2 separate regions of the Homo sapiens genome follow, and region 2 is linked to region 1. The links are contacts of gene promoters, found by promoter capture Hi-C in blood cells and fetal thymus (Javierre and others, 2016). All regions are on one chromosome and are shown on one strand. The core of a region is centred on a gene start or on the middle of the fragment in contact, and the rest is flanking DNA. Distances in the headings are between cores, read along the strand shown. Region 1 overlaps OVCH2 (ovochymase 2). Region 2 holds the start of OR2D2 (olfactory receptor family 2 subfamily D member 2).

The links. Contacts are between HindIII fragments. The CHiCAGO score rates a contact against its expected background, and 5 or more counts as called.
Region 2: a contact is called between the fragment with the promoter of OR2D2 here and a fragment that was not itself captured in region 1, in 3 of 17 cell types (M2 macrophages, M1 macrophages and M0 macrophages). The highest score is 8.1, in M2 macrophages.

Annotation. Positions count from the first base shown.
Region 1 is chr11:7,687,016-7,694,890 of GRCh38, forward strand. OVCH2 (ovochymase 2) reads right to left here. Exons shown (of 16, transcript NM_198185.7): 13 at 4,887-4,980; 14 at 4,254-4,385; 15 at 2,909-2,998; 16 at 2,422-2,587. The coding sequence ends at 2,940. It overlaps LOC105376533 (a long non-coding RNA gene), which reads left to right. Exons shown (of 11, transcript XR_007062576.1): 3 at 4,263-4,477; 4 at 4,966-5,538. Among named protein-coding and RNA genes, the nearest start is that of OVCH2, 16 kb to the right of the region's middle. RefSeq lists an enhancer at 3,999-5,198. The HindIII fragment of the contact is 1,796 bases long and covers 3,899-5,694 here.
Region 2 is chr11:6,889,527-6,897,401 of GRCh38, forward strand. It overlaps OR2D2 (olfactory receptor family 2 subfamily D member 2), which reads right to left and starts at 2,974. Exons shown (of 1, transcript NM_003700.1): 1 at 2,048-2,974. The coding sequence starts at 2,974. The coding sequence ends at 2,048. The HindIII fragment of the contact is 9,743 bases long and covers 1,831-7,875 here.

The sequences.
Region 1 (7,875 bases), core at 3,547-6,046:
GCTTCTGATGCAAAGGTGGGGATTCTAAGCTGCTATAGTTTTTTGGACTTCTTTCTACCTTAAAGGCAAGGAATCTCTGTTGTTAAGTTCATAAAGATCCACCCCCGGACCCCAACCCCGCAAAAAAAAAGAATATATTTTCAGGGGATATATTTCAGGGCATGTTATTCATACAGATGAAAAGAAAGGTGATTCCACCATGTAGCTTAAAAGGTATGTGATATTTCTGCGCAAATTGTCAAAAAAATATGATGTTACCCAAAACATTATTTATAAGAAGTGATGGCTGTGGAAATAATAATAATAATAATAATAATAATAATAATAAAGCCTAAGACATAATTTTGAGAAAATTGAAGGCTAAGGCTGAGAAATAAATTCTTACTGGGATTATGCTAGTGTATCGGAACTGCTTCTATGACTCTATGACTCCTGAAGCCTGAGAGCTTCAGGCAACAGAGGCCAGAGGCTCAGAACAACACTTGGGGACCTTTCTTTATGAAAGTGAAATCTACCTCCAGGGAGCCTCTTTCTCACCTCCCATTCACTCTCTATCTTTAGCAATCAGACTGTGGAATTCTGACTCACTGAGGTTACCTACAACATCCCAGTGGCCAAATCCAAAGGCCTCTTTTCCCATTGTTATGTTACTAGATTCTGTCCAGCATTTTTCATCATTGACACCTCTTTCCCCTGTCTTTGCTTGGGCTGATATAACAAATATACCATTGACTGGGTGATTTAAACAAGAAATTTATTTCACAAAGTTCTGGAGACTGCCAAGTCCAAGATCAGGGTATTGGCAGATCCAGTGTCTGGTGAGGGCCCCCTTCCTGGTTTGCAGATGTCTGTCTTCTTGTTTTATCCTCACAAAGGGGAGAGTAGAAAGAGAGGAAGCAAGCTCTTGTGCGTCTCTTCTTATAAAGGTACTAATCCCATCGATGAGGGCTCCACCCTCAGAACCTAATTATCTCCCCAAGGACCCACTCCAAATATCATCACAATGGAGATTAAGCTTCAACACATGAATTTGGTGGGAGCGCAAACATTCAGTCCACAGCAAAACCTAATCTCTCTCTCCACAGCTCCCATGTCTGTCCTGGTTCTCCTCCTCCCCTTATGCCTGGCTCCTTTCAGCCTTTTTCTTTGGTCTTCCCTTTTCTCTTTTTCCTCTAAAAATAGGCTTCTTTTGGGTTGCAACTCTCACCTTTATCTGCTACCTCCCAGACCACCCCATCCCAGGCTTGATTCTTAATTCCTGGACATCTGCAGCTGGATATCCCACAGGTAAATTGACAGGCACACATTAAATTCATCTTCAACCTCTCACACCCTCCTCAAATGTGCTACTGCTATGATATTCTCTTTTTTGGTCTTTGGAAATATTGTGCTTGGCAATGGCTTTGCTGAATGTACCCCCTGGTGGCCGAGAGAAGGAATCACTGCAGCCACACTTTACAAAAATTTTTCCACCCGGGGCTTCTTTGCATCATGAGGTCATTGTCAAAGAAGCCAGAACAAAGAGACCCCAACTGCTTTCATCCCTTCTTATGAAAATGAATTTTCATTCCCGACTCTCTCTATTATTCTGTGTCCTATGTGTCCGAAAATTTATAAAAATAAAAATAAAAAATAAAGGATTTGACTTTTCTCCTGATAAATCAAAATGGCAAAATGGCAAACTATAAAAGTTTCCCCACCTCATCTTCTGCCTGCTCTCCTCACCACTGTATTTTCCACATGGAACAAGATGTCACTTATATATGCCAATGGATGTCATGGACAAACAAGGAACAGGGAAAGCCCAGAACTTCTCAATGCTCATTGGCACTAGAACATAGTAGTATACTTGCTATTTTTCAGAGGTGGGATCTTGTGAATGAGACCACAATTTGGCACAGAAAGTAGTCATTGCCACTGAATTATTCACTCGAGATGAGAATTTATTCTGGTGACTGGAAATATTCCAGTGTTGCTTTGAGCAAAAGGAACAGTGACCACATCCCATGAAGCTCCATGTGATGGCTTTTTTGATATGTCAGCTTAGCTAGGTGACAATCCACAGTTATTAAATCAGACACTAATCTAATTGTTGCTGTAAAGAAATTTTGCAGCAGTAATTAAAATTCCTAATCATTTGACTCTAGGTAAAGAAGATCATCTTGAATAATCTGGGTGAACCTGACTTGATTAGTTTGAAGGCCCTTAAAAGCAGGGCTGAGGCTTCCCCAAAAGAGAGAAGAAATTCTGCCTGTGAGGAACAACTTCAGCCCATGCTGTGGATTCCGGTGTTTCTATGATTTTCCCTTTCTGAGCACCTGGCCTGTAGATTTACCTGCTTAGTCAGCCCCCACAATTGTGTAAGCCAATTCTGGTGTATCCGTTTGCTAGGGTTGCCATGACAAAGTACCACAAACTAGGTGGCTTAGAACAACAGAAATTTATTGTCTCATAGTTCTGGAGGCTAGAAGTCCAAGATCAACGTGTCAGCAGGGATGGCTCTGTCTGAGGGCTGTGACGAGGAGTCTGCCCCAAGCCTCTCCTCTAGCTTCTGGTGGTTTACTGACAGTCACTGGTGCCCCTTGGCCTGTAGATAATGTATTGCCCCAACCTCTGCCTTCATCATTACACGATATTCTCCCTGTGTGTGTATGTCTCTCTGCTTCCAATTTTCTCCTTTTAATAAGGACACTAGTCATACTGGATTAGGGCCCAGGCTAATAACCTCATTTTAACTGATTAACTCTGTAACAACCCTATCTCTAAATAAGGTCACATTCTGGGGTACTGGAGGTTAGGACTCTAGTATATTTTGGAGGAAGATGGAATTAAATCCATATCACCTGCTTCTCCGGTTGAACCCTGGATTATACTCTGTGTGTATCAATTGGTCCCCAAAACAGCTTACCAGAAACATTGGTTTCTCCATTTGGCACATCTCATGTCTCCAGAAACATTGATTCATCCTCTGATATGGAGATGTTTAAATCTGGGTATACTGGGTATAAGTATGATACAATTACTCAGTTTCCACAAAGACAGCCAGGGTTGGAGATTTATCAGAAAATGATTTATGAAGCTATTGTTAGAATTCTGGGGCACCTCAGCCAGCTAGACTCTATAGGTATTTCAAATGAGGAGTGGGGCATTTTAACTATAACCTGGCTTTGCCATCTGCAGCTGCTTAATACCTAAAAAGAATGAACAACTTGGAAAGCAGATAATTGGCTTTGTGGGGTTTGGAAAGAAGAATCATGGGTATGAGAATGTGTAAGGAAGCTGGTTAGGTAGTTCGAATGTCCAGGGCCTGGAACTGGTGAAGATATTTCATGTTTCTATGTCTCTGTTATGTACTGCACACTTGCTTGTGGCCAAGTGTATCTTATCTGATTTAATCCTCACTACATTCTTATTAGGGATGCATTGTTTTCCCTTAGTAGGGTTGAAAAAAATGAGTCTGAGGTGACTCTTAAGATTACACATCTAGTAATGATTGGCCATCAGGATTCAGACATACAGTCACTCGTTCTTTGTGAACTCCCTATACGTGAATTCACCTACTCACTAAAAATTATTTATAGCTCCAAAAGTGATACTCATGTTGTCCTCAGGATCATTCATAGGCATGTGAAGAGTGACAAAAAATACATGTTGTTAGACACACGTTTCCACACGAGGTAAAACAAGGCAATATTTTGCCTTCTTGCTTCAGCCGTCATCCTATAAACAAATGTCCTTTTCATGGTCTATTTAGTGGCACTTTTTTTTCATTTCTGTTCTTTTTATTGGTGACCTCAACCTTTAAAATGGCCCCAAGCATAGTGCTGAAGTGCCGTCTAGTGTTCCTAAGTGCAAAACTCTGTGGTGTGCCTCACATAGAAAACACACGTGTTAGATAAGCTTTGTTCAGACATGAGTCATAGTGCTGTTGGCCATGAATTTAATGGCCGTGAATTCATTGTAATGAACCAGCAATATATATTAAATAACATATCTTTAAACAGAAACACACATAAAACAAGTTTATGTACTGATCAGCTGATGAAAATGTACCTTGAAGGCACCTAACCTTGTACATTTCCTAGGAGGGATGGCTGAGTATTCTCTTATTCAGTGTCCATGGTGACTTGATAGGATGTAATTACTGCAGATAGTGAGAATCGACTGTCTCTGTGTTGGGCTCTAAAGACCTCTAATTCACATCACAAGGATTAGAACTGGGAACCAAAGAGTTGGTAACTCTATCTTCTTACCTGCTTTAGGAATGAAGGAGACTGTAGCCTGAAAGCCCCTGCAGGTCCCGTTTTCATCTGATTGGAAGCTGATGAGCATGATGCTGGAGGGGCTCAGCACAGGGGTGGGGACATCATAGCCACACAGCCGAGCTTGTTGAAGGCCAGCCCAGGCATGACATTGTCAAGCACCCAGCAGATAGCCATGGCATTGGAGAGAAGAAAAAAAGAAAATCATCCTTCAGGTAATTGTTGAGAAATACGCTTTTCACAATTCATTTTCTAAATAAAGGCAGCTCACTCCTTAATTAACCCCATGACATTTCAATTTGGTTTTCTCTCCTGAACACTCCCACACACAATGATGTTAAGGGAACTGGTTCTAGCCTCAGGACTTGTTTCAATGGAACTTTCCCTTTCTGACTCCTAGTTTCCTCATGGGCCTTTTGCATTTCTGTTTCAGTGGTTCTTTGATTCTCCCTTTTTCTCTTCCTGCCCCTAATGAAGAAGACAAAGGAGTGATGGTGAGACCACAGGGAGGGGTGGAGGTGGTGCAGGAAGATGGAGGAAGATTGATCTGTCTCCTTTTCGTTCCCATCTCAAGACTGGGTCCAAACACAAACCAGAGCGAGCTGAGGCTCAGAGGACACAAACCTATTTCCTTCTTCCTTTCTACATCGCTGTGCACTGTCACATAGTCGGAAGTGCAGTCTCCACTTTCTTCTATTTCCAGACTCTGAAATGAAAGCTGAGAAGACACGAAGTTACATCCAGAGTAAACAATCTGAATGAATTACCTGACTTTGATTCAGCAGAGAAATTTGGATTGCTCAACTTGTTCTGGAGTAAGACCTTAGATAAGAAAGTTAATGGGGTATTCAGGAGTGGGTCAGATTACCAAGGGAAGGATTCTATATCACAGGCTCTAACTTTTTGAAATAGCTACCAAATATGGCCTGAATCAAAGGGCAGGAAACTGTGCAAATATTTTAGCTTCCTAACATCTCTAAGAGATTAGGAGAGCTACCGCATGGGGATTTTTTTCCTTGGAAGCAACTAGGCACTCAACTCAACTAATTGCATATACACAAAACTGCTTCTCTGGACATCTTAGTGTTGTTCACCTGGTTCCTGATGTTTCATCTTGAACCTCTAGTTCTCCTGAATCAAGACTGAAATTTGTTGTGCCCCTTGGAGACCGTGTCTTTCTACCCAGCGGGATATAGCTGGCTCCTCTTCTCACCTGCTTTGTCCTGTTGCCACTATATTTCCATGCCTCACTGCAAAATTCTGAGAAGGCACAGATGTAAGTGAGTCTAATTGCTGATATAAAACAAAGTATCATCTGAGCTACTGAAAGCATTTGCATAAGTGGGCTCGGAGTCAAATGTAGTGAGCCTCATGAATGTGCATGAAAAAGGAAATCCTTGTATGAGTTAGAGAGAGCTGATTTTGGATACTAAGCTTAAATGTAAACCTCAGCAAAATTCTTGAGTAGATTATTAAGCTATGATGAGTAATGACCTAGAAAAGAAAGTTGATCACCTGGAATCAACCTAGGGTCACCAAGAATAAATCATGACAAACCTTTTCTCATAGTTTCTATAATTGTGATGCTTATTGGCAGCATAATATTTCATTTATCTCTATCCTTGAGACCTGTATTTTTTGCTATCTTAAAAACTTGGCAGTGAATATCTTTAGGCATTTACTTTTTTTCTTCTCTTGTATCATTCCCTGCATGGGGCACTTGTTTTGTTTCAGGAAAAGGGAGGGGAACTATCTAGATAGAAGGAACAGTGTGAAGGAGAAACAAAGAAACAATAAAGAGTGATCTTGGAGCAGTTTGGTGAGCACTAGCCAATTGAATTTGAAGTGAAGAGTGGTGGGAGAGAGGGCTGATGAAATAGGAACTCTAATTTTAACACACAGTTGATGGGGATTCAATGGGACCCAGACTCTGAGCAAGAAACAGAAAGGATTGTGTGGATAAAACAAAACTGGAGGCAAATAATTACTAATGGTAAAGGTAGGCGTGGGGAGGGGGACCTGTATCAGAAATAGGATTCATTCAAACATTTATTAAACCCTTACTGGGATACTTTCTGGGAAGGGGCCCTTTTCTCTCCAAGTCAAATGGTGAGCATATTCCTATGACTTTTAACACCAGTTTCCAAATTACTATCTTACACGAGTTCTGCAAAATGATGCTGTCACTGGCAGAGTATGAGAGCATCGCTTCACTGATGCACGACACTCAAACTTTACTTATTGAAGAGATATTTTTCAATCACTTCTGGCTCTGGCATTTTCAGATTTTCAACTAAATTTCCTCTTCTTCCTCCACCTGGAAACATGCTCACAACCTAAATTTTATCCTCCACCACTAACAAATTTTCCTTAATTCTGCTGAAATTTTTGCCCCAAATCTGTTTAGGTTTGATGAACTTTTAGAAAGAAATCTATACCAACTGCCTCTGTATCATCTTTTCCCACTCATTCATAAAACCTGTGTGATCTTGTTTCTGCCATTAACATCTGACTTCACGTGATATTTCAGATACCACCAATCCCAACTCCTCTCAATTGTTCAATTTCCCATCTAATTATTCTCCCTTTTTTATGGAGGTGTGGGGTGGGGACTGGACACCTCAGTTCTCATCTCTTTAAGTTCTAACTTAGTGTGGTATCCAAATGATTGGTCACATCTTTTTCTTTGGTTTTGTTTGTGTTTTAAGTTAAAGGCTGCATTCTCCAGGCTGTCATAAAAACACACCAATTTGGTTCTCCTCCCACATCTCAGAGTTCTTTCCATCTCTTAAGTGAGAACGCTGGTGTCTCATCATCCCTCACTCCTCTCCCCTTTATTTTCTGCTCTCTTTTCTCTCCATCGTACACTGTCTTGTTTTCAATTATTATTTTAAAAGAAAGATCTATGAGAAAATGCCTCATTCCAATCTCACCCTGACTGCAGTCCTACTTCTACCTCCCTGATGATATCTCTCTGCAGATGGTCCATTAGTGTTTAATGAACAAACAACTAACCACACACTGCTAATCAAATGTGGAATAAACTCCATTTCCAGGCGTTCAAAGGCCTCCATACAGTGACTTCCACCTTGCCTTCCACTGTCCACTCCAGGACACCTTAAGACCCTCTTAAACCAGCGATTCCCTGAGCCTGTTCTGCGCTGGTTCCTCTAGGCTTGCTCTGTCCTCTCTGCTTGAAAGGCTTGATGATTTTGGCCTGATTGACCTTGATTTTGTTATCTATAACTTACAATGTGTTTTGTGAGCAGTTTAATAAATAAGGAAGACATGCTTGTTTCTGGAATGGACTAAAAGTCACCAACACAAAGTTTTTGTTTTGTTTTGTTTTGTTTTGTGTTTTGAGAGTTTCGCTCTTGTAGCCCAGGCTGGAGTGCAGTGGCGCGATCTCGGCTCATTGCAACCTCCATCTCCCGGGTTCAAGCAATTCTCCAGCCTCCCGAGTAGCTGGGATTACAGGCGCCCGCCACCGCGCCCGGCTAATTCAATACAAAGATTAAAGCGGCACTTTTTTTTTTTTTTTTTTTTTTTAAAGTAAGGAGCACAGTGCCATCTAGTGGAAAAAATGTGTAGTTGCAGGGGAAACTGGGCGGAT
Region 2 (7,875 bases), core at 1,724-4,223, 800 kb before region 1:
AGCTATGTTTTCTGCTAATTATTTGCCTTTTTTGCTCTTCCTCTTTCAACTTACATAAATAATCATGACAGGAGCTATTCTTTTATGTAGCAAGTAGAAGTGTGAGCTACTTGATATCATGCCGCTATGATATAGTTCTTAATGGAACTTTATGTGTTCCCTGTATTAGAAATATGAATTAATCACTGAAAGAAGTGGATGCTGAGGGCAAAAGGTGTGTACTTCACCAGTTGACCTTTCCAGATCTACCTTCTATCCTTTTTCAGCTTGCTATGTGCTTCAGAATGTTTGACATCTTTTATGGATTATACCAAAAGGCTCCTTGTTCCCTGGCTTCTAATTGGAATACAATAGTGGGGGATCAGAAGGTGGGTGGAAAATGGGCTTGAGAAATATTTCTTCTCATGGCTTCCTTGCCTTCACATAGCCTAAGTCCACAGTTACTGCCTTGTGCCCTTAGCATATTTCTACCCTCTCCAGGTTCTAGTTCCCTCCTCTTGGTCATTCAGGCTTAGCGTTAGTTACAGCTTCTCACTCTTGCTATGTGTCACTATTCTTGGAATATGTCACTATTTCTTGCTGGTTTCCACAACTCCTATATTCATCTTTATGAAGATGTATCCTGATAAATATGATCCTTATGTTTCTAAAAGAGTGTGAGAAGGAGAGCAGAGCTCATATATTCTGCTTCATTGTACCCATGCTCTTCATTACCCATGTTAAGCACACATACAGGTGCACATGCCAACATACATGTAGCACCTAGCTCATAGTAAGTGATTCAGTAATGTCTATTTATTGATCATTTGATGATGCAGAGAGATTCAGAAGTACCAAAAGAAAAAGGACTTGAAGTAAGATCTGAAATAGACAGGTGATAATACACAGCATTATTAAAAAGGTAGATTTTACAAGGCTTATAAAATATGTGTGTTTCTCGGGGGATTTCTCAACCCTTAGGTGTCAAAGGACCAACCAGAAGGAAGCATATCCTCCTTCCGATTGCTCCACGAATTACTGTCCTTCTCCTTCTATGAAAGAAATGCAGGATGAAGGATAGAGGGTGTGTCTATGGATAAGGCCCAAGAATAAGAATCTTACCATATTTTTTATTAATTTTTAATTTACAATTGACATAATTATATATAGTTTGGGAATACAGTGTGATGTTTCAATGCATGGAAACACTGTATAATAATCAAATCAGGGTAATTACCATATCCATCACTTTAAGTCTTACCATATTTTAGATTCACAAAGAAGAGGGCTACCCAGCAAGTCTTCTTTAATAATATAAGTTTATTTTATCCAATATATTAAAATATTATTTTATTGTCATGCCATCCATATAAAATTACTAATGACATGATTTAAATTCTATTTTCATATAGGTGTGAAAATTTGAAATCTAATGTGCATTTTTTCTTCTTTTCAACTTTTATTTTAAAATCGAGGGTACACACGCAGGTTTGTTACAGAGGTATATCATGTGATGCTGAGATACGGAGTACAAATGAATCCATCACCCAGGTAGTGAGTAGGTAATAGGTAGTTTTTTTAACCCTTCCCCCTCCCTCCCATAATCTAGTAGTCCCCAATGTCTATTGTTCCCACCTTTGTCTTCATATGTACCCAATGTTTAGTTCCTACTTATGAGTGACAACATGAAGTATTTGGTTTTCTGTTTTTGTGCTAGTTCACTTAGGATAATGGTTTCAAGCTGCATCTATGTTTCTGCGAATGACATGATTTCATTCTATTCTGTGGCTGCATAGTATTCCATGGTGTATATGTACTTTTGTTTTCAAAGCAGGAGAAAGTTTATTAAAAAGCTTTAGAACAGTAAGGAAGGAAAAGGAAAGGAGGAAAAAGAAGGAAAGTACAACTTGGAAGGGGGCCAAGCAGGTGACTTGAGAAACCAAGTGTGCCAATGTACATTTTTAAAAATCCAATCCACCTGGGTTGATTCCATGTCTTCCCAGCAAGTCTTTGAAGTAGGAAGCCAAAAGGTTCTCTGAGCTCACTGTCAGTGTGAGATTCCAAGCCTTCATGGGAAATTCCTTGTGGCTACTTTCCTCAGAGCTGCCTTCACATCCTTGTTTCTCAGGCTATAGATGAGGGGATTAAGCATGGGAGTCACTATTGCATAGAAAACAGACACCGATTTTTCCTGCTGTTTGGAAGACTTGGGTGTCATGTAAGTGATAATTGCTGATCCATAAAAAAGTATGACCACCATGAGGTGGGAGCCACAGGTAGAAAATGCCTTGAGACTCCCCACAGTTGACTTCATCTTGACCACAGTTACTATGATACGGCCATAGGATACCAGAATCAGAAAAACAGGTATGAGGAGAATCACAACCCCCATAAGAAAAATGGCCATCTCTGATGCATGGGTGTCTGTGGATGCTAAGATCAATAGTGCAGGGGCCTCACAAAAGAAATGAGCAATGCTGTTACTGCCTCGGTAGGGTAGCCTCAGTATGAAGGTGGTGTCTACCACAGACACCAGAATGCCACTGGTCCATGATCCTGTTGCCAGCTGGACACACACTTTCCAGGTCATGATGTTAGGGTAACGCAGAGGATTGCAGATTGCAACATAGCGATCATAGGACATCACTGCAAGAAGGGCGCACTGGGTACACCCAAAAATGAGGAAAAAGAGAAGTCGAGCTGCGCAAAGTGTGAATGCAATGACCTTCTTTCTGGAAAGCAGGTGGACTAGTGCCTGAGGAACTATGTTGGTAGAGAAACAGAGGTCAGCCAGAGACAAGTTGCAGAGAAAAAAATACATGGGTGTGTGAAGTTGGGAGTCAACATGAACAAGGGAGATTAGAAGCAGATTTCCAAGCACAGTGACCAGGTAGACACCCAATAATACGATAAATAGCAGCTGCTCGGTGTGTGGCCCATCAGAGAGTCCCAGAAGGAGGAATTCTGTCACTTGTGTCTGATTTATCTGTCTCATAGTTTGTTGTCCTTTTCAGTAAGAAGTCACTATGTGCTAACCATAGACAGGCATACCTATAAAATTATATAATTCAGAAGTGCAGGCTTAGGAACTGCCCCAATTTCTACTGAAAATTTCAAGAACCCCCTTCATAAGATGATCATGTTTCTTTCATTGGAACATTTTCAGTGTTGTAAAACAAACTTTAAAAGATGTTGCATTCATTGTTGATGTCATCTGGCAAGAATAGATTTTTAAAATTATTTTTCTCACTCTGAATACCACACTTTTAATAATACAATATTAAATACAGACTGAGTTCATCTATAAAGTCCTGCCATTTAATTTCTGTTTGTTCTTAACTAAAACCCCTGAGTCGTAAGTGCTCTTGTCACATCTCCTCTTCCCCGCTTATGATAATATAGTTTTCTGTTGTATTTTCCGTGAAAGGACAGACACGAAGGTATAAGAAATCAGAAAGAGCCAAAGTACTGGTATGTTTTATTTAAGAAACTAACCTGTCTTACAGGAGCTGGGAAACCAAAGATTAACTCAGGATACCCTTGGGAATCCTATCTGAAGCCTCAGCTTGAGTTCTGTTCAGTCTCAACTGTGAATGAACTTCCAACATAACAGACACACCATCAAAACAGAATTTTCATTTTAAGCCACCAGCGTGACTAGTTTCATACTCAGCCCAAACAGCACTACTCCCCAGCTCTCTCTGCTAAAAATTATATGCATTATCTGTCCACTCCCCCCGCAAAAGTAAAAGTTCCTTTGAAAATAGTTTCCATGTCTTTTTCACCTCTGTGTCCTTTACGAGTCATAGCAGAGAACTTCATTTCATAAATGACCATAATTCATTAAACAAATAATAATTTGATCACATAGTTAAGCAGAGTCATTTAGAAGTTTTGCCAATATCCCTAGAGAGATTTGAAATAATAATCCAATTTTGTGGAGCTGTTCCAAAAAGAAGGGAAATAAATTTACTTTAAAGTGTAAAGTTTAAGATCCTATACACGGGTTGGGCTATCAATCCTTTAACTGTCTGGTGAAAGTATCTCAGAATAACGTTTTAAATACATCAAATAAAATGTATAGGATTACTAAGGAAACCAGTTATATCAAAATACAGTTATCGAAATAATTTTAGAAAACAGATTTGTAAACAGCAATATATGTGCTTCTTTATTAATACACTAAAATTTTGAAATGTAGTGGTGGGTCTAATAACCATCTTCATTTCAAAATAATGATGAGTTTAAATATTTGGAGATCTCTCCAACAACTGCAATACAATATAAAAATTCTTATAATTACTACTGCTGACAAAGTCATAAATACTTCTAATATTGGTGTGGGTTGGTTACTTGCATTCAAATTGGAAGGAAACATCAACTTTCAGTTAGGGGAAAATAAAAATAAAGAAGTAACATTTTACTCCAAGTTGCAGAACTCACTTGGGTTACAGGAATCCCCAGGAGATTTCTTAAAAAAAAAAAAAAGACATAATTACACCCTACATAATCTAGTAACAGAGTCTCAGCATCTGGATTGGTCTGTGAGTCAAAGAAATGAAAGATTTCAATTCCTAATTGGTCTTCAGACTAAAGTTGGAATTTGGCATTGGGAGGAAGGTCCCTTTGCACTTCTACTTAACTGTTTGGTGCTTTAGATTTTTAGCATTGCTCCCTGCTCACTTTGCAGGCAGAAGGCCTTAAGCAAACAGCTCAGTCCAACATGCATCACCTGTATGACAAAATCCAATTTATAACCCTTCCACCTTTGCCCACTACTGGTAAGCCATGGACTCTACACTCCTTTCCTCACTTCCTGGGATTTCTCCTGCAACATCTTTTCTCCAGACAGGAATGTAGCTGTCCTGGGCCAAAGTTACCACTAACAACCAATCTGGGAAAAGTTTGACCTAATTTCTTTTCTCTTCTCCACTTTTATTTTAACCACCAGAGGAAGAAGCCTGAAAACAATTTCACCTTACTGTTTTACTTTACAATGTACAGATTAATTACTTAAAAGGTTCTTTTTTAACTCAAAATACAGATTATTCTTTATGTTATTCTCCTCTTTTACACATCTAGGAAAATCTGTCAAAACAAAAACAGTCTCATATCAAATCATATAAATGTAATGGTTACACAATATTACCATTATATCAGGTAAATGGAGGTGTGGATGTTGATTCAATGGTAAAATAAAAACCAGTGCCACCAAACTCTAAAATCTTTGAAAGGATAAAAGCCTCTTACCTAATCCTTAAAAGGAACTCTATATTCCTCCTCAGTTTTGAAGATAAGTTACTTAATTTTAACATTTTGTTTGCTTAATTGTATTTTAAATATACATCAAATATATATTTTTCAGAACAAAAGAAAAAAATTAATAAATTGGACATCATCAAAATTAAAAATGTTTGTGCTTCAAAAGACACCATTAAGGAAGTGAAAAGACAACCCACAGAGTGGGAGAAAATTTTTGCAAATTCTGTATCTGATAAGGGACTTATATTTAGAATATATAAGAAACATAACCTGGTAATAAAAAGGCCAATAATATAATTAATAACTGGGCAAAGAATCTAAATAGACATTGTTTCCAGAAGAGGTATGCAAATGGCCAGTAGGCACATGAAAATATGTTGAATGTCATTAGCCATAAAGGAAATGCAAACCAAAACCACAATAGCATACAACTTTACACCTACTAGGATGGCTAGCAGGTTACCATATGAATCAGCCATCCCACCAGTAGGTATATACCCAAGAGAACTGAAAGCATATGTTGCACACAAAAACTTATACATGAATGTTTATGGCAACATTATTCATAATACTCAAAAAGTGCAGTGATCCAAAGACAAAAAGTGAAATGTCTTTGAATATATAAAGAAAAGGTGATATATCAGCTGGGTGTGGTGGCTCACGCCTGTAATCCCAGTACATTGAGAGACTAAGGCAGGTGTATCACTTAAGGTCAGGAGTTCGAGGCCAGCCTGGCCAATGTGGTGAAACCCCGTCTCTACTAAAAATACAAAAATTAGCTGGGCATCATGGCACATGCCTATAGTCCCAAATAGTTGGGAGGCTGAGGCAGAAGAATCATTTGAACAGGGTAGGCAGAGGTTGCAGTGAGCTGAGATCACTCCACTGCACTTCAGTCCATGTGAGAGAGAGAGACCCCACCTCAAAAACAAACAAACAAACAAACAAACAAACAAAACGGTGATATATCCATATAAAGGATTGAACATGGTACAACATGAATAAACCTTAAAAACATTATATTAAGTGAAAAAAGTAGTCACAAAGGATGACATATTGCATGATTTCATTTATATTAAATGTCAAGAACAGGCAAATCTATAGAGAAAGAAAGTAGATTGGTTGTTGCCTAGGGCTGGGGTTATAGGAGGACTGGATGATGATGACTAAGGAATGTATGGTTTCTTTTTGGAGTAACGAAAAACTTCTAAAATTGATTGTGGTGATGGTTGCATAACTTTGTGAATATTCTAAAAGCCATTGAATTATACACTTTAAATGGTAAGTTGTGTGGTGTGTCCAACATGCATCGCCCAAATGTATGGTAATAGTAAGTCTCTTTCCAAACACCCTCAAGCCCAATACCCTTTCCATTAGTAACCATAGATCACAGGTTGGTATACATCTTTCCAGATGTCTATTAATTCAAATTAATACACACACACAACACACAAACACAAATGCATATGTGTATGTACATGAGTATGCACACTTTTGTAGTTAACATATGATTTAATGACTTAATTTTCCCAACAATCGCTATTATCTTGGAGACACTTCTTGACCAATATATATAGCTATACCTATGTCTTGCTATTGATTTCATTATATTCCACACTACAGTTTAACTACAGTTAAACTACAGTTAAACCAAAACTTAGTTAACTATTCTCTTATTGATGAACATTAATATTGGGGCCAATTTATGCTACCACAAACAATTATGTTATGAACATTCCTATACATATATTGTTTTTCACTGTTACCAATATATCTGTTAAGGTAAACTACAAACATTCGAATTGCTAGGTACGAGCTTTATCCAAGATGGAATATATAAGGGTAGGCATATCTTTACTTTTGATAGATGCTGCCAATATCTAAAAACTGTAGTGCCTAGCAGTTATAGAAGTGCCTACCTTTATTTCAAGGGAAATCAACTCATTCAATAACTGATAAATAAAACATAATTATGAATAATTACATCTCTGCTTGATGATTACTTACGGCCCCACACTGAATATAGATAAATTCCACCCTCCCGTATCCATCTGCAGGCAACCTTACCAGCCTTATCCCATACCAACTAACTAGAACACACTGCATTTTTACACCCCACTGTTTTTTGCTCCGCATAGTCCCTCTACTCAAAGACATGCCCACTAAATCAAGGTATCATTACTTTCCTTGGGCACCCATCATACTTTGAATATTCAATCAATCTTATTTTTTGAGCAAATACTGTGTACCAAGCATATGCTAAAGACTGGGGATACAGACTGAAAACCCAGTTCCTAACACTAAAGAACTCCAGAGGGGAGGGGCCAAATTGTTTCATCCCCAGTGCCTACAGTGGTCCTTGGAATATCATAGATTCACAGCCAATATTGGTTTAAGGAATCTATATAATCTATCACATCAAACTAATAGAGAATTGCTTCTAAAGAGAAAAATAGTGTATTATCAAAACAGCTGATATAAAAATAAATTTCGAGAATACAGGTAATTTAAACATTGCTACATTTTGAATTGCCGTCCATCTGGTGGAAGGTGCTACCTGGTTAGTTCTTAGAGGCTCCGGGATTTGGTTCAGCTCAGGATCTTTAGACTCAGTACTCTTTCTGCCACAATTTT